2 separate regions of the Homo sapiens genome follow, and region 2 is linked to region 1. The links are contacts of gene promoters, found by promoter capture Hi-C in human tissues and cell types (Jung and others, 2019). All regions are on one chromosome and are shown on one strand. Each heading gives the region's core, a stretch centred on a gene start or on the middle of the fragment in contact. The rest is flanking DNA. Distances are from core to core; before and after follow the strand shown. Region 1 holds the start of KRTAP10-6 (keratin associated protein 10-6). Region 2 has its middle 29 kb from the start of TSPEAR.

What was found. The method cuts DNA at HindIII sites, captures the fragments that hold promoters and counts their contacts. A contact is called where the count stands out against the background at its distance.
Region 2: a fragment that was not itself captured here is called in contact with the fragment with the promoter of KRTAP10-6 in region 1 in 5 of the 25 tissues and cell types used here (dorsolateral prefrontal cortex, lymphoblastoid cells, mesenchymal stem cells and 2 more).

Annotation. Positions count from the first base shown.
Region 1 is chr21:44,590,119-44,596,495 of GRCh38, forward strand. It overlaps KRTAP10-6 (keratin associated protein 10-6), which reads right to left and starts at 2,387. Exons shown (of 1, transcript NM_198688.3): 1 at 1,150-2,387. The coding sequence starts at 2,366. The coding sequence ends at 1,269. All of the region lies in intron 1 of TSPEAR (thrombospondin type laminin G domain and EAR repeats), which reads right to left. RefSeq lists enhancers at 1-261, 1,234-1,981, 1,982-2,727, 2,728-3,474. The HindIII fragment of the contact is 10,619 bases long and covers 1-6,377 here.
Region 2 is chr21:44,736,725-44,743,798 of GRCh38, forward strand. No RefSeq gene overlaps it. Among named protein-coding and RNA genes, the nearest start is that of TSPEAR, 29 kb to the left of the region's middle. The HindIII fragment of the contact is 5,348 bases long and covers 2,391-7,074 here.

The DNA of each region.
Region 1 (6,377 bases), core at 1,137-3,636:
ATGGGGTGGGACTCCGGGAGGTCCTCCTGCTGGTGCTGGTCGCCTCTGGCGTTGACATGCAAGGGTCATTTGCTGGGGCAGGAGGCAGACCTGGGCTCTCAAATGCACACAGCGACCTGGCAGAAAGAGTGCAGCGGCTCGTACCACTCGCCCAACGCGGTATCGTGGACCACGTCTGAGTGCCAGAGCGGAGGGTGGCAGACAGAGCTGAGGGCTATTTGGAGAGACCTAGGAGGCTGGGGGTGTGGGGACAGGGTCCTCGGGGTCAGAGTCCAGGACCACAGGACCAGGAGGGAGCCAGGACCCTGAAAGTCTAGGCGAGGCCGCATGGGGCAGGGGGGCCCGCAGGCTTGGTTAGTGGGTGCCATGGTCCCTGCCCATCTGTGTTCTCGCCAGCGATGCCTGAGCAATGGGTATTCCAGAACCCCACGAATACTGGGCTGCTGGGCTCGAGTCCTGGGGGAGGGCGTGGTCCCCATGTCTTACTGTGGAGGAGATGAGGGCTGCAGGGATGGGCACTGTGGTCCATAGCTGGTCTCCCCAGGGGTAACAGGAGGGGTGAGGCTGCTGGCTGGAGCTAGGCCCCGGGTGGGCTACCCCAGTCCTGGGGGGCAGCCATGAGCTGGGGAGGGTGAATGTGGCTCAGGGGCCCAGAGTGCTGCCAGGGTCCACTTTGTCCCGAAACTCCTGGCCTTGGTTCCAGAGGCAGCTTTCCTAAGATGGGCCGGGGGGCCATGTGCTGGGGTTGGGGGCCCACGGGGCTAAGAGGGAGACTGGCCTTCAGGGTTCACAGAGGCCAGCACCAGAAGGCATTGCTTCCTGCCTCATCCCATGCCCCTCGGGGGTCCACAGACAGGATGAAAAGTCGACAGAGACAGAGGGGTGGAGCCAGGCCTGCTGGGGGTCAGGACTCTCCCTGCAGTCAGGGGTGGCATCACTTCCCACCTCACCCTGTGCCCCCCGGGGGTCCACAGACAGGACAGAGGTTGGTGTGAGACAGAGGCGGCTTTATTAGAACTAGAGGGGGTGCTGCCCAGGGTGGAACCAGGCCTGCTGGGGGTTAGTTCTGCAGAACTTGGGTCTGGGGGAGTAGCTGGGGTCTCTCATGCAGCCAGCATCTGGGAAGGACAGGGGGAGCATCCTGGTCCCTAAGACAAAGAGCCTGCCCCATCTTCTGAGGGTGTCAAAGCCAGAGAGGGCAGAGCTTGCTGGGGCAGCTGGGAGGTCAGCCCCTGGTGGGAAGGGACTCCGGATCACATCCAGGGCTGTCAGCAGCTGGACTTCTGGCCAGAGCAGAGGCTGTAGCAGGCAGGGCGGGAGCACATGGGGCGGCAGAGGAGGGAAACACAGGAGGCCGTGCGGCAGCAGCTGGGCTGGCAGGAGGAGGCAGAGGCACCACAGGAGGGGACGGGCACGCAGCAGGTGGACTTGCACACAGGGTGGCAGAGGAGGGACACGGAGGAGGAGGATCTGCAGCAGGAGGCGGTGCAGCAAGCCGGCTGGCAGCTAGACTGCTGGCAGCATGATGTGGAAGCCCCAGAGCAGACGGGCACACAGCAGGCGTGCTGGCAGGGGGAGGAGGTGCAGCAAGCTGGCTGGCAGCTAGACTGCTGGCAGCATGAAGAGGAATCCTCAGAGCAGGTGGGCACACAGCACACAGGCACGCAGCAGACGGGCACGCAGCAGGCCTGCTGGCAGGGGGAGGAGGTGCAGCAAGTTGGCTGGCAGCTAGACTGCTGGCAGCATGAGGGTGTGCAGGAGCTGGTGCAGCCTGATTGGCAGGGGCTGGGCTCACAGACCGCCTGGCAGCAGGGGCTGGACACACAGCTCACACAGCTAGACTGCTGGCAGCACGAAGAGGAAATCCCAGAGCAGACAGGCTTGCAGCAGACGGGCACACAGCAGGCCTGCTGGCAGGGGGAGGAGGTGCAGCAAGCTGACTGGCAGCTAGACTGCTGGCAGCATGAAGAATCCCCACAGCAGACGGACACACAGCACACAGGCTTGCAGCAGACAGTCTTGCAGCAGACGGGCACGCAGCAGGCCTGCTGGCAGGGGGAGGAGGCACAGCAAGCCAGCTGGCAGCTAGACTGCTGGCAGCACGAGGGCGTGCAGGAGCTGGTGCAGCCTGATTGGCAGGGGCTGGGCTCACAGGTCACTGGGCAGCAGGGGCTGGACACACGGCTCACTGGGGTGCAGACCAGGCTCAGGCAGGGGGCCGGGGCGCAGCAGGGGGGCTCACAGCAGCTCTCTGGGCAGTCGTCCACCTGCCAGGAGTCGGAGCAAGAGTCACAGGAACCAGGAAGGCAGACGCGGCTGCCGTAGCTCAGGTCGCTGGAGCAGACGGACATGGTGGACGCGGCCATGCTGGGGTTGAACTGGTGGAGGGTGAGGGAGTGAGCCTGTGAGGTGCTGAGGCTCTCGGGCTTTTATTCCACCTGGCCTTGTTGTCCCCGGGCCCACAGCTTCCCCTTCCGTGTTGCCGAGAGCTGGAGTCTGCCGGGATTAGGGGTGTTTGTTCGCCCGTGATGTGGGCCAGCTCATAAATCTCCCATCACATCTGGGCTGTGTCCCATCCCATGTGGATCCCTGGCGGCAGGAATTGGGCGGGGCCTGGTCCCAGCTGGGTTCGGGGAGCTGGGAGAGCCACAGGTCGCGGCATCGTCCACCCCTGGCCCCAGCAGCCCCGGGACACAGAGTCCCTCTGCAGGAAGCCGGCCTCAGGAAGTGTCCTTGTGGTGAAAACCCCTCATCCAGCGTGGTCCTTCCCCCATCACCGGACACAGGACTGTGGCCATCTTCTGAGGGACAACCTGGGGCCCATGAGCCTTCATTGACCTGCCCTGGGCCATGGCATGGTGGGGGTGGGGGGCAGCTGTAACTGTGCCCAGACCTCTTGGCTTTGAGCTCTGGACGACTTCTCATCCCCACAGCCTCTTCACCTCCGGCCCTGTTTCGTGTCCACCTCGTCTTTGTGTTTTGGAGGCAGCAGGACCTGTGTGTTCCAGGGCAAGGACGGTGGGCTTGGCCCCTCCCTGCTTGGACAGCATGACAGCCTTCTGGGCTGTGGTTTTGGGTTCTGAACCTGCAGAGTAACCGTGCTGAGCAGCGGGCGGTCAGCAGCCCTCGTCCCCGCCTGGGGTGGCTCCTCTGTGTGCTCTGCTTCTCCGAGGCTGCCCGTCAGCCCCCACCCAGCCTCCTGCTGGGCCCATTTCCCAGCCCTGTCTTCCAAGCCCTGTGCCAGGCCTCTTAGTGTCACCACCTTAAAATTAAGGGACATCTGTCCAAAGAACCCGCACAGAAGACACAAAATGGGTCCATGAGAAGTTGATCTCACTGCAAACCCATTGCCAGTGTAAACGAAACATAAAATCCTAAGCCCCTCAACTGACTAAATGGATCCCATCTTGCCCACGGGGACCCCCGAAAAACTGCGTTCCTGGCCATGACAGGAAGGGAGGTCAGACACGCCTCGTTACACCCCCTCCCTTTAGGGTTTCGACACAACCACTACCCAGCACTAAAGTTAAAATAGAGACCGTAAGACCCACAGAGCAGACTCTGGCAATAAGATATCAAATTACAAACAGGACCTCAGGCCGCGCCAGGCAAGGGACAAGCCGCGTGCCCTACACTGAGAGGACGGACTCTGCTCTCACGCCACAGCTGCTGTTTTTCTACAGTGGCTAAACACGCACTGGCCCCGCGATGAGGATGAGCAAGGTTCAAACGACTGCAGCTCATCCACCAGCAGATGCCAACTGACCACGTTCCACAGCCATGACCACAGCTCTGACTGGGCAGGAGACTGACTTCAGGAACCTCCTCCTGATAAGGGACCCCCAACCATGGACTGGCTCCAGCCGGTTTACAGAGGCTGTGCACTGGAGTGCCTTTGTGTCCTGAGAAGACTTCTGAGGTTTAGGGCCTCATTGCGACCCATTGACATGATAAGACTCCACCCTGTAAGAAGTACATTTCAAGTGGTCCGTATTCAGAAAACAGGCCCTGGCAAGTCCAGGCAGCTCCCTTGCAGATGTGACAAGCCACACAGTACAGACATCTGGGAAGAGTGATAAGACTCACAGAAGTCAGAGGGGAGGAAGAAAAAGTGACGGATGGCTAACACATAAAAGGAAAGAAACTTTTGCCATTGAGAAATCAAATGTAAAGTGGGGAAGGGGACAAGATGTAACCTTATAAGGGGATAATGAAACTTAGGTGACGTCCAGGAAGCCTGTGACCCCATAGTACTCAGGCTGCGAGGAACTGGGCGAGGGACCTGCACACTAGGGGATAAATTGCTTGTTGAAAGTGTGCTGGGTGTGCCCGCCCATCAGACACCAGATCTTGCAAGACCGACATTAAAGTCTCACTTTCACTGTTCTTCATGCCTCTAAGTCCATTCTTTGGATTTGGACGGGTCAGTGTGTTTCTCACAACCGCAGAGTGAAAACAGGTCGTATGTTACATGCATGTTTGTTCAGTTCCTCCTTCGTGAATATTCACTATTCCTCCATAACCTATTGCACATGTGTATTCAGCCAACCTGGTCAGCGTGGAGCTCCTGCCCCAGCCCCTCCTCCTGGCTCTCGTCTTGGCCAGAGGCTGTGCTTCCCGGCCTGCAGGATGGCTTTCTTGCAGGCTGTGCCCCTTTAGAAGAAACAAAGTCTCCTCTTTTTTTCCAAACTTACGGATCTGTGATTTTTTTTTTTTTTTTTTGAGATGCAGTCTCACTCTGTTGCCCAGGCTGGAGTGCAGTGGTACGATCTCAGCTCACCGCAGCCTCCACCTCCTGGTTCAAGCAATTCTCCTGCCTCAGCCTCCCGAGTAGCTGGGATTACAGGCATAAGCCACCATGCCTGGCTAATTTTTGTATTTTTAGTAGAGACAGGGTTTCACCATGTTGACCAGGCTGGTCTCAAACTCTTGACCTCAAGTGATCCACCTACCTTGGCCTCCCAAACATGCTAGGATTACAGGCCTGAGCCATTGCACCTGGCCAGATGGTGATTTTTTTAAATGAACACAAGCAGTCACCCAATTCTCTTCTCAGGAAGCAGCTACTTTCACCCATTTATTCTCTTTCTCTCTGTATCTCTCCATCTCTCTCTGTCTCTGTCTGTCTGCCTCTTCCGTATATGCACACACACAGCCCATTCTCATTATTCCCAGAGGCTCTGTTCTATACAGTCTCCACCAGCACCGAATAACCAAATACTGAACCACTGCTCCTACAGGAAGCACAGGGTTATGGTCTCATGAGCCTCTGATCACAACATTCCCATCACCTAATCAATGCATAGACATGTCTTACGAATGCTTCTGTCTGAAGACACCTTACTGAATCTATATAGTTGATTTATCAACACTGAGCCCCAGCCAACAGCCCTACAGAGCCTGAATGAAGTTGGTTGAACACATGTGTTTTCTCTGTAAGACGTGCTGGAGCCTTCTGAGCTCCGGACACCCAGCAGCACAGCAGCACTGCACTGGGGCACTTTAAACAACAAGATCAGAGCATCGTGGAGGAACGTGCGGCACTGAGGAGAACATAACAAGGACACCTGTTTACCATATGCGAGCTGAGACAGGAAAGCAAAACATCACCTCATTCTATTATGTGTATGTGTAAACATATATGCACATACACATACATACATATAATGCCTCTGTACACATAAATTTTTAAAATGCAAATTATGTCATACTCTACCCACTATGTTTCTGTAAACATGGAGCTCCTTTCCTGTGAATACATAATGATCTCTGTCTTGTTTACAGCTGCATAGAATTCCATGTGGTCTGTGTGTTCATTTTCTATTGCTGTGGAACAAAGTACCACAAGCTTAGTGGCTTCAAATAACACACATTTATCATCTCGGTTTCTGTGGGTCAGGAGTCCAGGCACAGTTAAATTGGGGTCTCTGTAGGGCTGTATTGGAGTGTCTCATGGGAAGGTTCAATTGGAGAAGGATCCACTTCCAAGCTCATGTGATTGTTGGCAGAACTCAGTTCCTTGTAGCTTCTTGGACTAAGTGCCTCAGTTTGTCACCAGCTGTCAACTGGAGGCTGCCATCATCTCTTTCCATGCGGCCTCAACGGGCAGCTCGCAATGTGCTGGCTTTTTCACAGCTAGCCAGGGAGACAGAGTCCTCCCGAGACGAGCATTATGACCTTATGTAATGGGATCATGCACATCCCATCACCCTCTCTGTGGCTCCTTGTGTCTATACACGTGTCACAGTCCCAACCACACTCAAGGAGTGTGGGGCACACAGCCAGTGACCACTAGGAGGTGAGGGACATGGGGCCACCCTAGAGTCTGTCTCCCGCTGTCTGGACAATGTCATGGCTGTGATACCTTTGCACATACC
Region 2 (7,074 bases), core at 3,815-6,314, 150 kb after region 1:
ATGATCATTTACAGTAGGCTGCATGTCCAGAGGCCAAGGAAATAGCCTGGTGGGAACAAGTTAGCAAACACGGTGAGGACACCACAGTCCAGCTGAACTCACAGAGCACGGGCACCAGGCCAACATAGTGAGTGACGCAGCTGCCCTGACTGGGCTGGGCATCCATGGGAGGGGCAGACACTGGTGCTTAGCAAGGACCTGCAGGGCCCTGTACCCTGAGATAAATCACAGCTCCCTCCTGAGAGCCCTTCTGGGTGTCCCCCATCTGCTGTGGGGCCACAGAGGCCATGTCATGGTGGATCATGGAAACAAACGTCCCACAGAGGGGAAAGCAGAGAGAGATGGGGCAGCTGGGATGCAGCAAGCAACAGGCCAAGCCTCTCTGAGAAGGGACTTGATGCAGAGGCCCTCTGCAGGGGACAAAGTTGAAGTTTCCAGAGAACAGCCAGGGGAGGGGTGGGGTGGAGGGCAGGGGGAGGGGGAAGGACAGGTGGGGGCTGGGCAGGTGAGCAGGGGAGGGACAGGCGAGTGGGGGCAGGCTTCATGTGTTTTGTGGGCAGGGAAGGGTGTCTGTGTCTTACTCTGGTGTAACAAGGAGCCAGGGAGGGTTTGAACAGGGTGGGGTGCATGATCTGAGCACCAGGGAGAGGAGACTTGGGGGCAAAGGTGGGAGCAAGAGACTGTTGGGAGGATCTAGGATATCCTGGAGAAATGATGCTTGGATAAAAATAACACATTTTAAAGGCTGGACAGACAGAGCTGAAGGAGGATGAGATGTGGATGTGAGGGAGGAGAGCAGGCATGGGGAGCCCTCTTCCCTTACACACCACTGCTTGGCCAAACAGCAGGCAGAACAAAGGATAGGGATAGCCTGCCACTGCGTGGACTCTGGTTTTTCTCCCACTGGTCAAAAATGCAGCGTGAAGAGTGATTTGGGGGAAAATGAATTTAAAAGGTGTCATATTCCAAAGCATTTTGAGTAATAGAGGAAGTTTCTTCCAAATGGATGAGGGAAATAAATGATTTCCCCCAAATTGTCTCCCCTCTCAGCCCAGCCCTCATCCATTAAACAGGCAGCCTGCTTCTTCTAACAGCCCACTTGAACAGTGGAGTTTGAATCCAAAGATGGAGGAAGAACCTCAGAGCATGGAAGACAAGAGACTCAGCCTGGGCGTGGCAGGGAGGGCTTCCTGAAAGACAGGGTGCATAAGACAGGTTTTGAAGAAGGGGTTTTGGGGTGGAAAAACAAGGGGGACAGGAGTTTCAGGCAGAGAACATGCTGGTGGATGCCAGAGCATCCAAAAAGGAGAGTGCAGGAGATTCTCAATCAAGATATGCTCGCAAAGGAGCCGACATTCACCAGAAAGCTCATTAGAGGCCTTAAGAGCTCACCACAAACTGTCATGAAGGCAGAACCAGAACCAAATGTTTTCTTTGTTTATGAAAGGCAACATGGCTCTTATGCACCTGGTGGAATGTACAAGTCATGTTTATTTGGGGGCAATCTCTCAGTATTTAAAATGGCAATACCTCTGACCCAGTGATTCCTGTTTGGGACTTTTTTTTTATATATACAGATTTACCTCCACATACATATAACAACATGAGAACCAAAATATTATGGCAGTGCTGTTTAAGAACAGAAGATGGAAACAAATTGGCTGTCAATACAGAGGGGACTGAGTAAAGGTTGGGATGCCAATTCAAGGGACACTATGCAGCCACTCAAATGAAGACGATACATCTGGACATTTTCCATGACACAAGATCCCAGATAGATCATTAAGAGAAGCAAAGATGGCAAACAACCATCTTTCGAAGGATGTATGAATCCAGCAGCTGGCAGAAATGGATTGGAGGAAGTCATCATCACTCTATGCAACTCTAAATCATGTTCCCGCATCGCTACTCAAAATACTCAATCTGAGTCAAGGCCTTGGTCTGGCAAGCACCAGCTAATTGGGCTCTCTGTCCTTCCTGCAGAGACCTCTGAGCAGCAGCTGCCTGGTGTCCTCCACAGGGGTCAGCCTCTGACCTGGGAAACCCTGACGAGCCTTACCTTTCCACTCAGCACACATGAAATCAAGAGGAATACACCATGTTTCCAAGCTTTCTCCTGTCCTGGAGCCAGGAGCCCCAAGTCCCCTGAATGGCATAGGCCCCAAGGCCAGCCAGGCAGCTGTTAGCAGGGGAAAGATGAGTGGGTGCTGGACAGGCCAAAACCATATACATCCCCACAGAGGCAGTGGCAATAATCCCAGTGAGAGAGGAGCAAGAAAGGAGGGACAACTATACCAGACTTAAGAGATGCAAGGGGAGTGAATCGATAGCAACCTTAGAAAAAAGGTCTTCAACCAGGGGCTAGCCCCACTCTCTCAAGGGCATGCAGTCCTCAGAGGATCCAGGCCCAAGAGCTTTAAGAGACATATTATTTTCTTGAAATGTAAAGTGAAAAGTTGGCATTAAAAAAGGGATGTTGAGGCCGCAATAGGGTGCTCTGAAGGTAGAGTGGGTACAGTGGCTGTTATCCTTAACTGCTCCTTTTCTAGCCCCTGCACTTGCCAAAAAACACATTTCTCCTGGGGCAGTCCTGTTCAAGCAATGACAATGTAGGAAGAAAGCAAAGATGGCAGTGTAGATCCCAAGTCCATGTAGGAGACACCTGGGACAAGCTTCAGTGTCCCTCCCTCTGTCCATCCACCTGCCCAGCCATCCATTTATGCATCTATTGCTCCTAGACCTAGGGTATCATGTTACCCAAACAGCATGCTGTGAAATGCCGCTCTGCATCCTCTCTGTTCTGGGCCATGAGAGCTCCACTTCTGCCCCTGCACCTCAGCCCCAAGGTCAGTTGTATATTTGTAGCATCTCAAGGAGGAGGAAGTGGGAAGTTTCACATTTCCTTCTGATGGACCAGTAATAAATCTTTAAGGAAAAGGACACACATCAGAACTCCCTCTCCCTCTCTTTCTTCCTCTCCCCCATCTCTCAGAGCCCAGCTGCCATGTAAAAAAGTCCAGGCTATCCTGCTGGACAGGCCATATGGTACAGAACTAAAGCACAAACTGACTGCCAGCCCTGTGAGGAAGCTTTCTTAAAAGTGACACTCCTTTTAAACACTGCAGATGATGCATCCCCAGCCAACATCTAACTGCAACCTCATAAGATGTTCTGAACAAGAACCACCAACTAAGCTTCTAGTCCCTGACTCCTAGAAACTGTGTGGCATAATACATTTGGCTGTTTTAAGCTACTGTTTGGGGACAGTTTGTTACACAGCAGTAGACTGTAGTGCATACTATAAATCCAGAGTCACTTTGCATTTGGACACAAGTCTTTCTTCTTGCTGCCCAGCTGCTATGTTTCCACTTGTCCATTCGGTCCTATCAGTCCTGACTTGACTTAGATCACATGAACAACAACACAATGCCAATTCTAGCTTAAATAAGACATTTAGCACAGTTTTCAAAATACTCATCCTAAGCTCCAGACTTATTAATGGCCAAGACATTATTATCTCTTTGCTTTTTAATTTCTGCAGGGCTCAGTTTCATTCTATCACAAAATGATGACAGATGCAGGAGGCAGGTAAGTGAGGGTCCCCACAGAATCTCCAGCCCACCCCACAAGTGTTTATATCAGATACTTTTGTGTAGATGAGGGAACCTGCCCAGAGTCTTGTCTGCACATGCTTGCAACGGACTGGGGGCCCCCCTGTGCACTGGGAGAATGGGGTGGAGGCATGGGAAGTGCATGCCTTGTGCAGCGGGGAGGAGCCTGGCCTCTTCGGCTTGTATGTGGTGGCCTGGAATTCAATCTGTGAGGTGCGACCCTGTTGGCAGGACCTCATTTTATTTTTGCCAAGAGCTTTCTTTTAATAAATCTCACCTTTCAACATGTCCACGTGCCTAATTTTTTCCTGGTAATGGGACAAGAACCCAGGTTTTAGCTGAGCTAAGGAGTAAAAATCCTGCATCATTTTGGTGGCCCATACAGGGACACGAGCAAAGGTGAGTAAATGCGGACCAAAACATCTTTTTCCCTTTTGTTTTTGAGCCTATTTGTCCTCAGACTTCTTCTGAAGGTAAAGGAAACAGGCCCCCACCCTTGCCACTCCCAGGGGTCAAGAATGTCGGCCTCGGTCCGACCCAGACTTTCTATGGCATTTTCCTTCATTGTTTGGGACAGATGGGCAAGCGGCAACTCCCCGCCCGCCTGGCCTCCCCTCCCAGCTGGGGCTGGGGTGCATAGCTCAAAGGCTGCATGTGGCAGGCTGGCCAGCATTCCCCACCATATGTCCATGGTGTCTCCTCATTCCATGACTGAGGAGTCCAGCTCCATTCAAGCCCTAGGGAAGAAACAGCAGTAAGTTTCTCTCCCTGTTGGAGGAAACTATTTGTATAAGAATAAGAGGTTCTTTCCCAAGGCATCTTTCCAACCCTGCACTTTAAGCTTTTTTTCTTTTCTCCACCAGGTCAGGAGTTAACTTTTAAGTGAGAGGGTTTTTTTCCCCCTTTTAGAAAGCACTTTAGTAGGCCAGAACCCTAGCTATCACTGTTTTTCTCTGTAAAGTTTTAATTATGAAAAAGGATTTGTAGGCCAGCTGCAGTGGCTCACATCTGTAATCCCTGCACTTTGGGAGGTCGAGGTGGGTGGATCACCTAAGGTCAGGAGTTCAAGACCAGCCTGGCCAACATGATGAAATCCTGTCTCTACTAAAAATACAAAAAATTAGCTGGGCATGGTGGTGCGCACCTGTAATCCCAGCTACTCAGGAGGCTGAGGTAGGAAAATCACTTGAACCCAGAAGGCAGAGGTTGCAGTGAGCTAAGATTGCGCCACTGCACTCCAGCCTGGGCAACAAGAGTAAAAAACTAGGAAGGAAGGAAGGAAGGAAGGAAGGAAGGAGGGAAGGAAGGAAGGAAGGAAGGAAGGAAGGAAGGAAGGGGGAGGGAGGGAGGGAAGGAAAGAAGGAAGGAAAGAAAGAAGGAAAGAGAGAAGAGAGAGAAAGATGAGAGAGAGGAGAGACAGAAAGAAAGGAAGGAAGGAAGGAAGGAAGGAAGGAGGAGGGAGGGAGGGAGGGAAGGAAAGAAGGAAGGAAAGAAAGAAGGAAAGAGAGAAGAGAGAGAAAGATGAGAGAGAGGAGAGACAGAAAGAAAGAAAGGAAGGAAGGAAGGAAGGAAGGAAGGAAGGAAGGAAGGAAGGAAGGAAGGAAAGATTTGTGAGTTGGTCTTAAGCTACAGCCAATCTGGTGTGCTCTGCATGTCTTTCTGTATGGTCAGTAGCAAACTTTGCTGCAGGCCTCCATCTTGTTTTATGTCCTTGGGAGCATGACCTGTAGCGACATGGCAGTGCTTTGGTTTAGCCTTCACCATTTTACAATGGCGGCCCAGGTCCAATCCTGGCTTAGGGAATGAGTTCTTTCTGGTTTGATATCTACATGACCTTTGCCATTTGTTGATTCCCTTCCCCTCCACAAACTGCCTTGGATTTTCCTTTCTCTGAACCTTCAGAAAAGTTTGAAAGCCAGAAATATTGGCCGCTTGGCATGGCTAAAGCTGGGTAATGAGATTTAAAAGGATTTTATTAAAGAGCACTCAGCTTAATTAAAAGTGGATATCCAAGTTACAGGTATATTTAAAAGGCCTTTGTTTTTCTCTTCTTGGATCTTGTTTTGCTGGAAAGAGGTTTTTTCTCAGTCAACTGAATTATTTTTCTCCATTTTGCCTTGCCACTCTTAATGCACACATGAAAGATGAGAGACCTCTGATTTCCTCATGGAGCCCCAGGAATTAGAGGCAGATGGATCCCTCTCAAAATCTGTTTTTGTCTCCCAGCTATATTTGCTTATGAGAGCCTGGAAACTGCATGTTTTCCTAGTCTTGCTCTTAAAGGGCTCCACCCAGAGGCCAACAATCCAATTATGAAAAATATTATAGCTACTGAATCTTCTTCTGCCTGTGTAGTTATATATGTGTTGTGTGTGTGATGTCTATTAAAAAAGAGCTCTAATTAATTGACTTAAGGAAGGATAAGCACTTGGATCAAATATTTTTTAAAGGTAAGATAAAAGCTGTGGTACCTTTTAGCTCACGTGACTTTAGTTTATGGCTTTTCCATAAATTGAGCATTGAAATAAAAGCCCAAAAGGGTTCTCTTAAGACACTAATCTGCTATCTAGCAAAATTTGTAAAGGGTTATAAAAAGTTTTTGCTTCTTAAAAAAATGTCTGAGTCATCATTTTGGTGAAATAAATAACTTATGGAAATCTGGAATTCTATTTCATAACATCAACTCTTTAAACTTCTAACATATTTGACAGGCTTCCCAAAATCAAATTCCTGTTTCAAAAATTGTCTTTCCTGATCCCTGGCTTTTGGATGCCACAGAGGGCCCCTGGAGCACCCAGAAGAGAGGTAAACAGGATTACCTGACACAGTTAGGTACATGGGATTACCAAAATGATCTTTAATATTCCTCAGGTTATATTTTAGGGAATAATATTAATATATGTTCCAAAGTTGTATGGGATTTCTAAAATTCTAATGTCTGAGTATATGCTATCGATCACAATTAAGGTTGTTAAGTTATTGTAAACTATGGAGATAACCAAATGTATTTGTCAGTTGTGTTTCTGACTGTAACTACCCTGGACATTTTGTTATTCATAGACAATTGTTGTCTTGTTTTGATCCTCTTCAAAGGATGGTTTATAATCAGCTACAGAACTTCACCAGGTGCTCTCAAATGCAGGTTTCTAATAATTTTGGAGATTGTGACATTAGAATAAAGGAAAAATGTACCAGACTCATGAAGAGCTGAAATGTTCACAAATAGCAAGTAAAACAAGAGTTAACTGAAAGGACTGAACTAATAGAAAACTGAAGTAATATTTTTTACTTTTGCTTGGAAAATTGCTGATCCTTTTGTTTTTAGAGTCAAGGAAACATTTTGAGCTATTTATGGCCTTTAATAACTAAGTAAGGTATACTACTGTGAACACAATTTGGAACATATTTGTCTCTCTCTCTGCCTGGCTTCTCCGGGATTTGGAAACTAGTTGTAAGTATTCTT